2 separate regions of the Homo sapiens genome follow, and region 1 is linked to region 2. Evidence: promoter capture Hi-C in 16 types of primary human blood cells and fetal thymus (Javierre and others, 2016). All regions are on one chromosome and are shown on one strand. Each heading gives the region's core, a stretch centred on a gene start or on the middle of the fragment in contact. The rest is flanking DNA. Distances are from core to core; before and after follow the strand shown.

Region 1 (2,700 bases), core at 94-2,593, 300 kb after region 2:
TCAGTTCTGAAATTTTGTGTGTGTGTTAGGTAAACTTATGTTTGTTACAAGCCTCAGTGGAAGAATCTCCAACTACGGCTCCTAGTAGGAGTGTGACTCATGTTTCCCTAGTGGCATTGTGTTTTGACAGAATTGCTACACAGGTTCGCATGAACAGGTAAGAAATACTTTATTAATCTGAGCCATGATTATCTTGCTGGATGTAAAAGCAAGCCTTGATCATCTTTTCTTTTAAAAATACATTTCTAAGAATGTAATGTTAAAACTCAGAACTGGTTTTGGAATTTCAAATCTTAATTTATAGATTAGTAACATATGTCTTTAAAAAATTTTTACTGTTTCTATTCATAGTATCTTTCAGTAAACATTGAATAATTTTTTACTACTATTGGTGTATAATAGTAGAGTGTTTTGTTTTTTTTAAAGGAAACCTTTTAGGTAAATGTTTTCTCTGAACTGTATTATTTAAATGTTAAACATTTTACTCTCTTTTTTTTCATAAAGAGGTGTGGTTGAAGAGACTTCAAACAATGCAGAACCTGGTAGAACATCAAATTTTGATAGGTATGTTCATGCCACAAAGATGCAGCCTCAGTCATCTGGATCTCTCAGATCAAATGCTGGAGCAGAAAAAGGCAAAGAAATTGCAGCTAAGTTAAACATTCATCGAGTTCATGGGCAACTTAGGGGTCTTGATACAACAGGTAGGATTCTACAACAAATATGTTTTTTCTTGGCATATATAAATGTAAGATGATTTTGCAGAAGGGAACATGTTTTTTTCCTTTGACTATTGCTACAATTCGGTATTCTATAAGAAAGAGAAAGGTATTTCTCCCTATATTGAACACGTGGTATTTAGCTACTTGTCACTCACATTCTGTACAGAATAGAAAATAAACTTTGGTAAGAAAATTAAGTGGTATGGCCCCAAATTAGGAACTTCTATTTCCCATGTTTCTATTTCCCATGTGTTTTTTCCATGCTATTTACTTGCTCGTTATAGAACAGAGAAGACATGATCTTTATAGTCTTTCTTATTTTTTAAGTCATTCTGTTTGTAAAACAGTGTTAGAAAGAATTAATTGTAATATTAATCAAAACCAGAGAGTCTGTAAAATACAGCAGCAATAAGGTGACACACATTCCTCTTAAAGTCCCTAGTTAGGTAAAAGGAAAGTAGAGCTGTTATACATCATTTTAATATTTTTGATTCTTATTTAGCACATTTTATCATTTAGATGCTTAAATGTTTTCAGAATGTCAGAGATTCAATTCAGAAAAAGTTAGATTTGCTAATCGTATTTGAGATGATTGCTCTGCTGAAATCTTTATGTGGGACTGGTGACCAATTCTGAGTAAACAAATGAATTCCCTGAATTTGCTTACTGTATTTTATAGGTTCTGAAGTTTCCATGATTCCTGTCTGCATTCTGGGTCTGTGTACCTGTTTTGACTTTCTCAAGGCTTATTTTTTTCATCCCAGGTGTGAGGCTGAAAGCATTTGACCTGAGGTTTTCAAGGGACTTTTCATGACTACCTAAGATCTGTAGTCCTAAAACTGGTGAAAAATGTGGTGGCTTGAGTGAAGACACTTTTATCAGCTCTGTAGTTTGCGTGGGTAACCAATTTGCACTGGGTATTATACAGACCATAAGCAGAACCTTATATAATTTTGAAAGGCATTATCATGCAGAAAACACTCTCATTGAAGACAAAACTCCCAACGAAATTCCAAGGTGGACATTTCTGTAAAAATGTAGATGTCTTTGCTTATATGTACATTAGTTATCTGCCAAAGGTTACTTAATAACCTCATAATATTTGTTACCCTTATAGGGAGGGGAACTAGGTGTCTGGTTGTGGTGTTAGAGGCTTTTCATTGCGTACTTTTTCATAATTTTTTGAACTTTGATACATCTGAATATGTATGGGATTAAAGACAAATACAAAAAAATTAAATAATGAGAAAATTATAGGAAAATGTAGGTGAATGTTTATTCTCTGAATAAGACCTTTTAATTATAAATGCAAAGAATGACATTTCCATAGCATAGAATATTATATAGCTATTAAAATGATATCTTTGAAAAAATTTTAATGACCTGAGGAAATTATTTACTGTTGCATGAAAATGGGAGCCAAAGCTGGGTTTGCAAAGTGATCTCTAAAGGGCTAGAGTGCAGTGTACTTCAAATATAAACAAGTTCTCCTTGAATGGTAAATTTACATGTGTTTTTAATATTCTTTTTGTTTTTTTATATTCATTAGCAATAATCAGAGAGAGAAATGAAAAAAGTAAGATAAAGTAAAACTTCTCTCAGGCACTTGGGGTGTTAATTTCCACAGTGTATCTGTAAGCAGTGGAACCATGACAAGGTCTATGATGAATTGTAGTTATGTAAAATATGTCAGTATAAAACAGTCTTTTAGTAAAAGCTATAATTTGCCTAGAAAATAATGTTTTTCCTAAGGCTTGGTAATTAATTGAATTTTTTTTTTATTTTGTGAGATGATGAAAGTATTTAAAACTACTGTGAAGATAAATTATTTAGGATATTTTTAACTTTATATTTTTTAGAGTATCCTGTAATCATTCAGAAACAAATTCATACTACCTTTGAGCAACTTGTTAATCATAAAATCTTCTTTTCTTCCTCTTAGGCAGCATTATTCTAAAAGTTAGCTCATTTGCCTGTT
Region 2 (2,700 bases), core at 23-2,522:
TGCCCGATGCCCACTCTCTCCCTCAGGGGACCCTATAGGGCTTCGGTTCCAGTTTTACCCCAAATGTGACTGAACCACAGAGAGACGAGGCGCCTGGGCAAACCTTCAACCCACACCCTGTATCGCACTGTCCCCTCCCTACTCCCCACTTCTCTGCCCCCGCCCCCGACGTCCCAGAGCGTCGGAGGGGACCCAAGTCCACGCTGGGACGCCCGGGAGGAGTTCAGGGTTCAAGTGCGCGCCTGGGTCTGTGCACATCTTCCCCTTCCTCGGCCTCCCTGGGTAAGCTCGGGACCCCGGGGTCCGTCTTCCAAGGGGTGCCCAGCCCTGGCAGCAGTCGTGCGAGCTCCTCGGCTCTAATACAGGGAGTGGCTGCTCGCCAGGATGCTTGTCTGAAGTCAGTGTGCCCGCCTGCGGGCTGTTCCGTGTGCTTGAGCCTGGACAGAGCCCCTGCCACGCACTCGGCAGCCCCTGTGTCCCTCCACCGCGCGGGACCGAGGGGGCGAGCCTCCGGCCGAGGTCTGTCCCCTCCAAATCACTCCAAATCGAACTGCCTGGCCGTACCATGTGGGTCTCGGAGGTCCCGGGCTCGACGTGGAGCCGCCCGGCGCGCGCCTTCCCGCCCCCCGCCCGGCACCGCCCTCCGAGGCGCGGGCCGCGGCCGGGCCCGGTACTCACAGGTCCGGCCCGTGGGAGAAGGGCGGCGGGCAGTAGCCGTGCGGCTCCCGCTGCGAGGGCGCCGAGCGCGGCTCCAGCCCCCCGTTGACGCCCCTCCAGCCCCGGCGGCGGCGCTGCGGCTCCGCGCCCTCGTCCTCGCCCTCGTCTTCCTCCTCCTCCGGCGCCGGGAAGGTCACCCTTGCTTGTTCTTTGCACTTCCTGACCTTGGTGGACATCGCGCCGGCTGCGGTCCGAGTGTGGGGGTGCCGGCTGCCGGCCTCCTCCGCCTTCGCGGCAGTGCAGTCTTCCCGCGGCGCCCCTTCACCACCTCCCGCGGCTTCCGGGGCCCCGGGCGGCCCAGGGCGGGAAGGCAGGAGCGGAGAGCGTCGCGGCCCGCGATCCAGCAGTTAGAGGCTAGCGCCGAAGCCGAGCTGCCGCCGCCCACCATCAAACCGTGGGAGCAGCTGCCGCGGCCGTGGCTGCGACGAGGAAGCCCGGGGCCGAGCGGGGCTCTGGTGCTGGGAGAGGCTCTCCAGCCCCGCGGCGGCGGCGATGCCTCCTCGGCGCCCGTCTCCTGTCTCCGACAGCATCACTTGCTAGGACAGCATCGTTACTCAGGGAGAAGGAGAGGGAGGGCGGGAGGGGGAAGAGGAGGGGGAGAATCAATTCCTTATCAGACAGAGCTGGAGAGGAAATCAGACAGACCGCAGGTGGGGAGTAAAGAAAGAGAAACTTCCCCTCCCCACTCTCTTTCTCTTCCAGAGGATCTAGGGCCCTTTTTGCATCTACAGAAACAAGTTTCCTAAGGAAGGGAAAAGGAAATCCACTGGCTTGTTAATTTTCCTGCAGCCAACTCTCCAAATTTGTCTCAAAAAGCATCACTTGTTCGTTGGGTTACTCCCGGTAAGACTTGGTTGAACCTACGGAGGTTTAAGTACCTTCCCCTGAGTGCCTTCGTACTCCATCCAGCCTGGTAATGTTTTAAACGTGCATGATGCTTCAGTTCTTTTAATGACTCTCAAAGGCGTCTAATAAGATTTATATACTTTCCAAGGAAGATTTTTCAGCGAAATGCAGTCTTCTTTTTAAAACACACTCACAAAAATTGCATTTTAGAATTCAAGACCAGTCATTCTTTTGGGAGGAAAGAGGTACAGAATCTTAGCAGGAATCTTAGGGATCAAGGAGTCTCTTGGTCCTTTTAAATAAGAAACCCTTGGCCTAGAGAGACTGAAAAAGGTACTCATGATAGGTGGGTAGTGAGAAAACTTAGATTAGATCCAGAAGAGTGTGTTCTTCCAGACTTTCCCTTGCTTCAAATAGACGGCTTTCTAGCAAGTCCAACTAGGAAAAATCACAAAAATACTGGACACGCTCTGATGAGATAAAATTTATTTAACTGTATCCAATTATACTGTACTTTTTAGAGGAACAATTCTTCCCAAATTTAAGCAAAACACAAGAAAATGTAGCTCCTTTGAATTTAATTCTTAAAAAGTAAATAAAATATTGTGTATTAAATTGGCAAGTCTATATGTTGAAAGAAGCAATAGCATTTATACATCTAATATAGGAAAAACAAAAACAAGTAAATATTGTATAGTGCTTTATGTTTGGAAGTGCTTTTCAGTTGTTAGTACATATGCAAGTGTTAACGGTTTCACAATGTAGGTTAGCAGACCTATTCAGTTTCACCTCTGGAATATCTCTAAAGCAGGACTGCCCTTCTCCACCCGGTACCACCGCCTCAATTCAGGCTCCCCTGCTTCTCCCTGCTATCCAGCCTTTCTGCAGCCCACCTCTCCCCATACTGTTTCATTCTTTGTACTACTGGAAAGACCATGCTTAAAGCAAAGTCTGATCACGACTTTTCTCTATAAAAATCTCTGGTGGCTTCCCACTACTTTCAGGTTAAAATCCAAGTTTTCAATCTCTCCTCCCATCCTTTTTCATACACATTCTAACTGCAGTTACCCTGAACGCTCAGTCATCAACTGACATGCTAGATACTTTCCCATTTCTCTGCCTTTGTCTATGGCATTC

Evidence for each region. The method cuts DNA at HindIII sites, captures the fragments that hold promoters and counts their contacts. A CHiCAGO score of 5 or more calls a contact.
Region 1: a fragment that was not itself captured here is called in contact with the fragment with the promoter of TRPC3 in region 2 in 3 of 17 cell types (megakaryocytes, total CD4 T cells and naive CD4 T cells); the score reaches 5.3 in megakaryocytes.

The regions. Positions count from the first base shown.
Region 1 is chr4:122,246,654-122,249,353 of GRCh38, forward strand. It overlaps BLTP1 (bridge-like lipid transfer protein family member 1), which reads left to right. Exons shown (of 88, transcript NM_001384125.1): 34 at 30-157; 35 at 505-704. Among named protein-coding and RNA genes, the nearest start is that of BLTP1, 96 kb to the left of the region's middle. The HindIII fragment of the contact is 2,883 bases long and covers 1-2,700 here.
Region 2 is chr4:121,950,788-121,953,487 of GRCh38, forward strand. TRPC3 (transient receptor potential cation channel subfamily C member 3) reads right to left here and starts at 1,273. Exons shown (of 12, transcript NM_001130698.2): 1 at 679-1,273. The coding sequence starts at 893. It overlaps LOC102724158 (a long non-coding RNA gene), which reads left to right and starts at 195. Exons shown (of 3, transcript XR_427598.4): 1 at 195-282. RefSeq lists a silencer at 864-1,133. The HindIII fragment of the contact is 12,740 bases long and covers 1-2,700 here.